Linked DNA regions of Homo sapiens: regions 1 and 3 are each linked to region 2. Evidence: promoter capture Hi-C in 16 types of primary human blood cells and fetal thymus (Javierre and others, 2016). All regions are on one chromosome and are shown on one strand. The core of a region is centred on a gene start or on the middle of the fragment in contact, and the rest is flanking DNA. Distances in the headings are between cores, read along the strand shown.

Region 1 (4,074 bases), core at 1,534-4,033, 160 kb after region 2:
TCCAATCTGTCATCACTTCTGTCACCTGATTAGAGCCACATTCTTCTCATCGATTCCCTCTTGTTCTCCTATAACCAATTCTCCACTATGCAGCTAGAATGCTCTTTTCAAAATATAATCGAAATGTAACTCACCTACACAAAATCCTTAATGACTCCCCATTGCACTTAAAGTAAAATCTGGATTTCCTTCCTTGATGTTCCAAAGAAACTTTGAACAATTGTTCCTGGCTTCAGGCTGAAAGGCTTTGGGACTTTGACAATGTAACATTTTCCCTTCTCCTAGGAAAAGATAGAATTAATAAAATGTCATCATTGTTCTTAAAGAATAACACAGCAAGGCCTACCCTATACTCCAGGGAAATATATATGTGCATATGTAATATATATTTTATAGATATATCTATACTTAATTTAATAGCTATATGTGTATCTGTATATACACATATATACACATGAATATATACATGTATAGACATATGTACACATATATACATGTGTAATACATACACAAAATATATAGTACATATACCTGTATAACATATAATTTATATGTAATATAATTATAAATATAATTTATATATCATTTATAATGCATATAGATTATACATATTTGTAATTTTGTAAATATATATACATACTAAGAGAAATAAAATATGCAAAGCCCTGCAAAATTCTTTGTGATATCTTTGTGTGGAAATGATACGTTTGCTATCTCAATGTTTTTATTAGATAATAGAGAAAAATACTACCTTTATCAGTTAGAATGCTTTAAGCTACAAGTAACTGAAAACACAACTAAAAATGACTTAAGCAAAATGACATTTACTATTTCACGTAACAGTCAATCCCAGGGTGAGTTGATTCAGAACTCCAGTGAATTTAGGACTTCAGCATATTCACTCTGTCAGCTTTTGATCTCAGGCTTCTCCATAATGTTCAGGAGAAACCTGTAACAGCTGCAAGTGTCACTCCCTCATAGAACAAGCCCAAAGACACAAAAAAGAATATTTCCTTAATGTGTCTGTTCTTATCAAAAGGAAGAATCTTCTTTAGTCACCCATCTGAAAGACTATCCCTCACTGAGTAATTCTATTACTCAGAATTGTCTCATATGTCAATGTCTAAGCCAATCCACTTTTGAGTGGATTGAGATTATGATTATTTTAGACCAATTGTTACAGGACCACCAGGTTCATATGCCTGCTATGCAATAACAGACCAATACACTGAGACAGCAGAGTTAGCAGCAGAGAGTTTAATGATTACAGGGCAGCTGAGCAAGGACATGGGAAAAACCCTCAAATCCATCTCCATGAGAGTTCTGGGCTGACGTTTTTAAGGGGTTGTGGACAGCCAGGGGCTGGAAAATTGAGGTTGCTGATGGGTCAGGAGAAGAGAGATGAAATCATCAGGATGTGGAAACTGCATTCTTTGCTGAGTCAGCACCTCATGGGGTCCTTCAGACCTGCTGGCATCAGTAGTTTCACATCAGTAGTTTCACCGGTATGCGGGACTTGAAAGAATATCTCAAATGGATAAAAGCTTCACAATGCTTAAGATGTTATCTAGGGGAACTATAATCTTGTGACAGGGTCTACGTGATTCTGGGGCAATAGGCAGGAAACAACCATGAGGAAGCAGGTCAGACAGCAAGCTGACCTAATGATTAATGCTGAATGTGCTACAAGCTTGGTTCGTTTTTGTTTCTCTCCTTCCCTTCTTCCCTGGCTAATTTTATGCAGTTGATAGGGACAGTTTCACAGTCATAACTCAGTGTGCAGAGCTAGGGAAAAACAGCCTGCCATGAAGCTCATGGCAGCACTATATCTGAACAAAAGTGGGGTCCCGTTAGCAAGAAGAAAGGAGATCTATTAAGAAACAAGGTGTATGGTGTCTGTCACACTTTCAGCAACTAAATAGAGTTTGCAATTAGGTGTCATCAATGTCCATCATTTCTGTCCAGTGGAAGTAATAAAAGTAATGGGACCATCTGGCATTTAAAGCATTCATCAGATCTATCCACAAAACTTTATGGTGTAAAATCTATTTATTACCTATTTCCTTCATCTTCAATTTCCCAAGACATAGAAATAACGACAGAATCTCACCAGCAGAGGGCTAAGAATTCATGCAGGTAATTTTTAAATTATTATTATTATTATTATTATTATTATCTTTATTTGATAATAAAGAACATGTAGGAAAACTTTTCTGAGTAGTGTTTACCTCTTGGCATACTAAAACTGTCATTTCACTGCTTCATAAAAATAGATACTTTGATTCTCAGTTAGTCGGAGATGATAACCTGGACTTAATATTTGCTCTCACATCTTTACTTCCTATCCCTGCCACTATGCATTAAAGCATCCCTAATTACATCAGTGAGGGTATTATCCAGATTGTAAATAATGTAAATAACTGGTAGGAGCTCTAATGCCTGGAATACAAAATTTAGCCCAAATCCAATGCCAAACAATAAGAGCATTCTGAGAGAAGATGACTCCTTTAATACCTTCTTCAACGGGACTATTGTGGTCAAGCATGGCTCCACAAAATTGTTTGTGGACCTAGAGCCAATACGTGGTGATGAAGTTTGCCTTAGGAAGCGATCACTAGCAAAGAAGATGCATCAAATAGCTTTGCCTCTAGTCACTACACCGTTGAAAAGGAAAGCATTGACTAAGTGTTGGATTGGATTCAGAAGCTAGCTGACTTAAGTACAGGTCTTCAGGCTTTCTTGAATTTTTGCTGGTTGGTGGTAACTACAGTTTTTATTTGCCTTTCTGTTGATAGAATCTCTATCAGTTGATTATAGGAGCAAAATTCTCCATTTACCCAGCTCCTTAGCTTTCCTTAGCTGAAGCTGAGGTCTTCAATTCCATCAACTCTTTAGCACTTTGATTGTGTCTTCATATTAGATAATGAGGCCATCTATAATATTTATGTAGAAACCTTAATATTGAGCACCCAATACACAATAACCTTAAGCACATTTTCAACCAGTGTGTATTCTCCATCATTGTTTCTCTCAGATTTCATGGTGCCTTGAATGTCAATATATCAAAATTTTATACTTATTCTCTATCTTTATGTCTACTTCCCTCCGTGTATATATCCAGCTATCTCTGCTGGGAAAACCTACCACAAACATTTTCTGTAGCAGAGATAACTAATGCTTGCTCTGAGCTAGCCAACCAGATGATATGTGACACTTGAAATGATAAATGTATGGCTCACTACCTATTGTATAGTATTATGGTAATAATACATTATTACTATATCAGTGTAATATGGTTTCCACAAATATGAAGGCTGCATTGCCACCATCAAGACAAATTTGCAGATCTGTGCCTCTCTGGCTTCAAGGTTGGAATCAATTATCAGTGTCCCACTGCAGTTCTAGTAGAGACTGCCAAAGTAAATGCAGTTGTGTGCTCATGGAGCAATACTGCAGTCATAGCTGAAGCCTGGACTTGCCTAGACCGCAAGTTGGTCATGCCAAGAGTGCCTTTGTTCACTGTGTATAAGGGTGAAGAGATGAAAGAAGGGGAGTATTCAGAAGCATGGATGGCCTAGGGAAAGATTATAAGGCAATGTGGATTTCAGAGGATCAGGGAAAGAAGGAGAGAAATATAAGTTGTCTATTCCCTTTAACTTGCCACATCTTAGCACAGTTTATCTTTAACTTAAGTCATCAGTGTCTGATTAGATTGTCTTTACTTTCAAATGTGATTGCTCCTGCATAACTCTTGTGTACCTACAAATTTTTTTCTATTTTCATCCATGAAAGTAAAGGCTTTAACAAACAGAATGACATATAGATGTGTGTATGCATGAGTGTGTATGGAGAGAGATGACAGAAAGAATAAGCTTAAGGCTCAGTGTGGTGGCTCACACCTGTAATCCCAGCACTTGGGGAGGCCCAGACAGGTGGATCACTTGATCAGGAGTTCAAGCCAGCCTAGCGAACATGGTGAAACCCCCCTATACTAAAAGTACAAAAATTATCTGAGATCCATGGAGGGCACCTGTAATCCCAGCTACTCAGGAAGCTGAGGCAGGAGAATCAATT
Region 2 (4,244 bases), core at 25-2,524:
GATATAACTATATTTAAAGGTACTTGAAGTTAACATGTAAAATTTAAAAATGGTTTGTTTAGGTAACTTTATTTTTTAAACTTTTAAATCTTATTATAGTTATTTATTTATTGCTAAAAAATCAATGGCAGAATGTCAGGCATGAGATACTGTATGTAAAAAATATATTTCCCAAATATATTTGGGAAAAAACATATAAGTAACCACTTATTCCTGTCTCTGTTGTTTGATTTGCACATTATATAGAAAAAGTCAAGTAACTGAACACATCTGAAGTTGCAGTATTGGAGTAAATTTAACCATTAGTTGTCAGTGCTTTACAAGATGAAGTCATAGAATTTTATAATTGAGAGTCCTCTAAGACCTCCTGATTCAGCTTCCACTTTTCTTAGTAGATACATGTGACTTATGGAGAAATAAGTAAATTTTTTCCCTTAAGCTACACAATTAGTTGGTGAAAAAGCTAAGACTAGAATTCATATTGTACTACTAATAATATTGTAATAATTCTATTACAAGTTCCAATTCTTTAGCATTCATTAGTTCTCACAAAGTAACCCCAGTATAACCTTCCAAATTTATATCCTGCTTCTTTGCAATGTTAGACAGGAATGCCCTTTTTCCCCTCCCTGCTAGTCTTGCCTGTTTTCTTGAGCTCTCCATCCTTACCCTAACACCCTACACACTCATACTGTCTTCTTCTGTCTGCTCCTCTTCTAGTAGTAGTGTGTTAGAATAGCTTTTTCAAATGATCATATTTGGAAAAAAACAAAGTGGATTTTAGTTCCAACTATTCTGTTTGCTTGTCTTACTTTGTGCATCTACTCAATTATGCTCTGTTTCATATATTATGAGAAAAACTGCATTTAATCATACAGATGAGGGAATTCAGAGGTAGTGCCCATTAATGTACGGAAAGTATGTTCTGATGGATCTTGGCTGGCTGTGTTGAGGAATGAGGTGTATAACAATATGATAACATGAGCAAAATAAGTGTCAAATCCTCTTGAACTAAAAGTGACTCTACAGTTGTGAAGTAGTCACAGGCTTTCACAAAATACCTGTCAATTGTAATTGTGTTTAATCTCAATTTACCAGAATAAATAAATTTCTTACTAATTTGTGAAATTCCCTGTCTATTTCCAATTATCTTCCACAAGTCATACTATTGGTTTGTTGATTCCCTCAAACTTGTTTAACAAGTTAGATTTTAATTAACATGAGATTTCCTCCTTTGTCCTCAACTATAGATCACACGTAATACATGAGAGTCATTCATTTGAGTGGGAATCTCAAAGCAGTTGAGTAGGCAGAAAAAAGAACCTCTTCATTAAGGATTAAAATGTATAGGTAAGTCCTGTTTTTGTCTTTGTAGCTTTAAAAGTTTTACTATATCTTACAGTATGGGAAAAATATAAAGAAGCTTAGCAAATTTTGACTGTGTCTAGCAATCTTCTAGTTACTTCTCTGAAAACTTCATCGAAACTCTTAGATATTGTTTAGATAATATGCTTGATATTATTTTCATAAGGTACATAGTTGCTTAACTGAATTTTTTATAAAACAACCACAAAAATACTTAGCTTAGCGTTATGACAACATATCTTTAAATAAGGAAGTGGTTTTGTTTCTCATGTGCAACATTTCGAAAAGTGGTGTGTGGATTTTAAAATTGCAATCAGTAAACAATTCTTGTGTTGTTTGGAACTTTTCGAGGATTCTGTGTTTTGACTTCCATTACAGTTTTATTGCTAGCTATTAAATAAATATGCCATAAATCCTAAAGTACACTTTTAGAAAGTAAAGACGGTATTTTTCTACTTTTTATATAGTTGTAGAATTATTTTCAAGAAAGTTCTTGCTAACATTTAAGAGAAAATAATCTCTCTCTGGTTTTCTTTTTAGTTAATGAATAAGTATTTTCCTATACTTTCACATAAAGAAAGAAAAAAGTTGTGAGATAATCAAGTCACACGTTAACATCTCAAAACAATGAAATAATTATGTAACTTGGTATGTTTATGTGTGCACTTAAGTGTATATATTATGCATATTATTTTTCTATGACTACAGGAAAACATGATACTGATAAGTCATGCTGAAAGGATCAACAAAAGCATGAACAATGTGTTAGCTATAATAAGTGCAGCTGAATTTATTTTAAATCTCCTGAACATTGGAAAATTCAATCAAAAGTCAAACCATTTTAAGTAATAAAAATATATATACAGTTATATGCACTTGAATATATATATATGAGTGAAAAGTGGATAGCTGTCTAAGCTTCCAATGATAGAAGAAATAAAATCATTTCATATTCATGTAATAGATACAAGAAATGTATTAAAGTAGCTTAAAAACCTATGAAGTAATTTACATACTGAGTTTGTTCTTATTTTATGTGAAAAAAACAAATCACAAAATTGTATTTACTCATCAACTACTACTTTGTAAAGCTATACATGGGAGAAAGTCTAATAAAGAACATAGAACATTAATCAGGTTTGTTATACTAAAGCAGTGAGTTTATGAATTATATTTTTTATTGTTCTTAAACCATCTATAAGTGTAATATTATTTGGGTAATATAGTGCATTTTAAAATGTATTTTGCTGAAATATTTTAATTTTAAAGAAATTACTCTGATTTTAAAATATTGCCCTTATAAGCAGTCAAGTGTATATCAAAACATCATTCAATGGAAAATAATAAAAGAAGACATGTAAATGATACAAATCCTGAAAGAGTTGTACAATTTCAGAAGGCTTTGAATCAATCAAATTTCTAAGTTGATCCATCATTGTACAGGAAATTTGACACTCAATCAGAGCCAACCTTGCCAATTACAAATAACTCTTCTGTGGAATTTTGGTTTCTAAGGATCACACTTTTTGGAATATTTTATCTCTTTAATAGCCTGTATCTACTACTAATAAATAGCAGCTAGGTATTCATATCAAATAACAGAAGGAAAATTAAATTGTACAATATACTTTTTTTAGGTAATTGTAGGTAATTTTGGCATAATTTTAGATAAATCTTCAGGTAATTCTGAAATACTTTTGGTTGAAAATTGGCTGCCTTGGATGGTTTGATTGCTTTTTTTATAAAAAATTAAACTCCCAGCTCTCTTCCATGCTGCTGCAAGATGAAATGCTCCTTTCTTTATCTACCTTCTTCCCTTGTCTGAAGAAGGAAATCCTACCGTAGGGCCCAGGAACCTGAACAGCTGTGTTACTCATTTCAGATCCTTGGTCACTCTAGATTTTCTCAGGTTCACCAAGGGAATATCTGTGCCCACCAGATTACAGAAAACGTGTGAGATGAGGTTTGGGAAATAGGATAAAGATTTATAAACTGGAATTTGGAATGTAGTTTATGGAAAGATTTAAGGTAAATGAGCATATCTCAGCTCAGGGACAGACAAGTCTTAGCAGGACTCCTCCTACCAAACAAATCTTGTTTCCATTTTCTTCCCTTTTGTCTGTGCTCAAGACATGATTAACTGACTGCAGAGACATGCCAAAGACAATCAGATGCCCTGCCTCCCAACAGTCCAAAAGAACCTGAGACAAAAGTTGGCGGGGGGACGAGCCATCGCTGTCAAAAACGCATTCCAAATCCTGCCTGTTGTTTCAATCCTGGTTTTTGAACTGCTATAGGAACTCAGAAAAACATGCTTAAAATTGTAAATCATTAGGCAAAGAACATATTTCTTCATAGAAATTAGGCAGGTGGACACCAATTTGTATTTACAGTCATGAAGCCCAAAATAGTGCATTTCTAGTACAAGTTGTTGCCTATAAAATCTTGAGCCACATGCTAAAACAGCTGCTGCATTTGGCCCAAATGTTTTTCTAATGATGGTGTGGGACGGGCCTGCATACAGGAAGATCAGCTGCAGTCAGTCATCTGGGATTATATATTTTCTAGCAAATTATCCCATGCCACTGCCAACTTGTCTTCCAGAAGGCACTCCCAATCTATTTTCTCAGTAATTCATTGCTTACTTAACACACTACTGCAACTCCCAAATTGCTATGACTGGCACCCCTAAAATAAGTCATAAGGAAGGGATTCATTCAATATTTACTGCTGTAAGGGAACCTACAGTTATCCAATCCAATTTCTTAAAAGGTATTGCTCCCATTTGAAGGATCCCATTCTTTTGAGCAAAGAAGACTTGGCATGATTTCACAGTTTTGGGGAGTATTCCTTCTCTAGCTTTAGTATATGCTCATGAC
Region 3 (4,209 bases), core at 348-2,847, 190 kb after region 2:
TAAAGATAAATTCCAGAAGTTCTCTTTTCTCTCCGTTCTCTTTCACACAGCCACAGTTCCGACCATTTTGTCTCATAGTACAAGTCCAAATACTATAGCTTACCGAGTTATTTTGAACATAACTCCAACTTACCTTCTAAAAAGTTATTATTGTAGTAAAAACACATAACATGAACTCTACCCTACTAACAAGTTTTTAAGTGTGTAGTATAGTATAGTTGACACTTGAACAATGAAGGAGTTAGGAGTGCCAACTCCCCTACCACCCTACCTCTTGTGCAGTCGAAAATCCACATATGACTTTTGACTCTCCCAAAGCTTAAATGCTAATAGCCTTACTATTGACTGGAAATTTTACTGATAATGTAAATAATCAATTAACACACATTTTTAATATTATATGTATTATATACTGTATATATATATATACACAGTATTCTTAGAATAAAGTAAGCTAGAGAAAATAAAATGTTAAGAAAATCATGTAAGAAAGAGAAAATATATTTATTGTTCATTAGATGGAACTGGATTATCATAAAGGTCTTCATCTTTGTTGTCTTCATGTTGAGTAGGCTGAGGAGGAGGAAGGGGAGGAGTTGGTTTTGTTGTCTTAGGGGTGGCAGAATCAAAAGAGGTGGAGGCAGAAGGGTAGGGAAAGAGAGGCAGGCACACACAGTGTAACTATGGAAATATGTAACTACTATGTGACTTTTTTTGCTTTCTCATTTCTGGAAAAATGTTTCTATACAATACTGATCCTCCTGTCATTTTCTTTAGTTTCTTTTTGGTGCCCCTGTTGTAGAAGGGTCCATGTCATTAAAGAAATCAATGCAATCTTGAATCGTCGGAACCCTTCTGCCAGATTGTCTGATGTCAGTAACAACGATAGCATCTTCAATGGTATAATCTTCCAGACTTTAATGATGTTCTCTTTCTTGGGGTTCTCTTCCATAGCATTGACAATCCTTTCTATAGAGTACCTTGTGTAATGAGCCTTAAAGGTCCTTTATGATGCCCTGATCTAGAAGCTGAATTTGAGATGTTGTGTTTTGAAGCAAGTAAACCACTTCAGCACCTTCATTGTTGAACTTTGGGGTTCTGGGTGGCCAGGTGTATTGTCCAATAGCAAAAGAACTTTAAAAGTTCTTGCTGGCAAGGTACTTCCTGACCTCAGAATCAAAGCATCAATGGAACCAATCCAGAAAAAGGGTTCTTGTCCAGGCCTGCTTGTTATGTAGCCGGAGGACTGGCCGCTGGTGTTTATCTTTTCCCTCCAATGCTCAGGGGTTAGCAGCTTTATATGTAAGGGCAGTCCTGATCATAAACCTGAAAGCATTTGCAGAAAACAGTAGAGTTAACTATCCATTTCTGCCTTAAATCCTGGTGCTTGCTTCTCTTCCTTACTAATAAATGTCCTTTGTGGCAATTTTTTTCAAAATAGAGCACTTTCTTCTACATTAAAAACCTATTCAGGTAGATATCCTTTCTCTTCAGTGATTTTCCTTATGGCGTCTAGAAACTCATTGCTGCCTCTTGATCGGCAGAAGCTGCTTCTCATGTTGTGTCTGACTTTTTTTTAAGACAAACCTCTTTCTAAAGTTATCAAACTATCCTTTGCTGGCATTAAATTCTACAGCTTTACTGCTTGGGTGATGGGTGCACCAAAATCGCACAAATCACCACTAAAGAACTTAAGTAACCAAACACCACCTGTGTACCCCAGTAACCTATGGAAAAAAAAGAATTCTACAGCTTTATATCCTTTACCTTCTTTTTGCTTTAAGTGGTCTTATAATGACTTCGCTTTTTCTCAAATCATGTTAGAGTCTATGACTTTCTTTCAGCAATCCTGCACCCATATCAGTGCTGCATTTTCAATATAAGATAAAAAAATCTTTCACAAAAAGTGTAAGGTTTTCATACTTGCTGGTGTAGTTACAATGATGGCTTTTCTTTTTTTTTTTTACAATGGTCCTTCCACTGGATTCATTTTATCTTGAAATGTCAGGCAACCATAGCTGCAGACCTCAGTCTACAGTACATAATCAAGCAATTCAACTTTTTATTGTAATGTCATGACTTTTCTCAGCTTCTTGGGAGCACTTGCAACATTACTGGTGGCACTTTGTATGGGTCCCATGATGTCATTCAAGGTTTACAGTATTGCACATTAAACATGATGAAAAAATATGCAAGAATCTCAAGACATCACTTTTTCCTGCAATATTCAATTTACTGGAGAGAGGAACTGCTCAGGCAAAGATGAATAGAGTCACATGTGCTTTAACCAGATACATCACTTAAGCTCACCACAATAGCAACTGGAAGTAGCTACAAAATTATTACAGTAGTGCAGTATGTACTACAGTGACTTTTATGCACTTATGACTGAATACTGCATCTTTACATCTGTTTACATTCCTCTTAACTGCAAATGGCGACATCTATGGTCTGTAAGTGTACGCATAGTTTTGATAAATTTTAACTTTTTATAATTTGTGTATATTTTATGGTAGTAAATGATAAAATAGACTAATATGTACATAGATTTCATGCATTCATGACATTTTCTTAATTTTTGGGTATTTCTAGGCTACAAAGTTCATCCGTGAGTTTTTTTCAAGTTGTCACAAATGTCCAAAAAAATTTTCAGTATATTTATTGAAAAAAATCTGCATATAAATGGACCTGTGTGTTTGAAACCCATGTTGTTCACGGGACAACTATATTTTTAACTCTGTGTACATTGTCATATAGCAGATCTGTGTAGCAAATATTTCTTCAAGATCTTGTTTCTAATTCTTTTGGAGAAATAACCCAAAATGGAATTGCTGGATTATGTGGTAATTCTATTTTTTAATTTTTGAGGAAGCTTCATACTGTTTTCCATGGCAGCTGCACCATTCTACATTTCCAACAGTGCACAAAAGTTCCAATTTCTCCACATTGTTGCCAATACTTGTTATGTTTTGTTTTGTTTTGTTTTGTTTTATAATGGTCATCCATACAGGTGTGAGGTGATCTCTCATTGTGGTTTTGGTTTGTATTTGATGATTAGTGAATGTTGAGCACCTTTTCATATACTTGTTGGCTATGTGCATGTTTTTGGAGAAAGATCTATTCAAACTCTTTGTCCATTTTTAAAAATTGGGTCAGTTCAGGGGTTTTTTGGTATTGAGTTATAGGCATTCCTTTGGATATTATTAACCCCTTATCACATACATGGTTTATAAATACTTTCTCTCATTCTGTAGGTTGTCTTTTGATTTTGTTGACTGTTTCCTTTACTGGTTTTTAGTTTCATATAGTCCCACTTGACAATTTTTGCTTTTGTTGTGTGTGCCTTTGGTGTTATCCAGGAAATCTGTGCCAACACCAGTGTTATGAGGCCTCTTTCCTGTTTTCTTCTGGGAGTTTTATAGTTGCAGATCTTACATTTAAGTCTTTGATTCATTTTGATTTGATTATTTTGTATGGTATAAGGGTCCAGTTTCATTCTTTTGCATTTGGAAATCTAGTTTTCCCAGCACCATTTATTGAAGGCCCCAACCACCTTTTCCTCTGAATACACTGGCCATACTAGACTACTTTTTTATCAAAGATAAGATAGGTAATTGCAGTTTATACCTTTTTACCTCAACTGTCTGTTCCTGTAATGCTCTTTTGTGCCTCAAAAATACCTTCCAGTGATCCTTTAAGAACTCACTCCTATGTCTGCTCTGTGATATCTTGCCTGAGTTACTTCTCCTCCTTTCTGCTTAGCCCTAAAGCATCTTATTTTTATTGCTATTAAATAAGCACATTATCACATAGTATTTGTTCACATGTATGTCAACTCTGTCAGACCATGAGCTTTTCTAAGTCGTAGACTGTGACAGTGTCTGAGTCTTAGAAGATACTCATTAAATGATTATTGAATGATTAGGGAAGACAGTGGGTTCAGATTGGCTTGTAGTCTGGAACCTAAGACTAGGTACGTTGCCTAAGTAGTTGGCAGGAACCAAAACTAAGGATATGACAAAAAAGTCTGAAAAAGGTGCAGATGGTACTAACAATAGAAGAAGTGATGATACTAAGAAGGCACTTACACATTCCATCCTTAAGCAAAAACCAGTATTACTGGCCAGGTACCACATTCCCTGACTTCTGAATTCTGACATGAAGCTGCTACAATAAGACCATCCTTTATATCTGGAAAATTCTGACAGC

What was found. Contacts are between HindIII fragments. The CHiCAGO score rates a contact against its expected background, and 5 or more counts as called.
Region 1: a contact is called between a fragment that was not itself captured here and the fragment with the promoter of TMPRSS11D in region 2, in 2 of 17 cell types (M0 macrophages and M2 macrophages). The highest score is 5.2, in M0 macrophages.
Region 3: a fragment that was not itself captured here is called in contact with the fragment with the promoter of TMPRSS11D in region 2 in 1 of 17 cell types (monocytes); the score reaches 5.0 in monocytes.

Annotation. Positions count from the first base shown.
Region 1 is chr4:67,724,747-67,728,820 of GRCh38, reverse strand. It overlaps the pseudogene LOC100419046. Among named protein-coding and RNA genes, the nearest start is that of UBA6-DT, 26 kb to the right of the region's middle. The HindIII fragment of the contact is 2,182 bases long and covers 1,693-3,874 here.
Region 2 is chr4:67,881,032-67,885,275 of GRCh38, reverse strand. TMPRSS11D (transmembrane serine protease 11D) reads left to right here and starts at 1,274. Exons shown (of 10, transcript NM_004262.3): 1 at 1,274-1,350. The coding sequence starts at 1,343. The HindIII fragment of the contact is 7,558 bases long and covers 1-1,425 here.
Region 3 is chr4:67,689,553-67,693,761 of GRCh38, reverse strand. All of the region lies in intron 2 of UBA6 (ubiquitin like modifier activating enzyme 6), which reads left to right. Among named protein-coding and RNA genes, the nearest start is that of UBA6, 9.5 kb to the left of the region's middle. The HindIII fragment of the contact is 2,554 bases long and covers 321-2,874 here.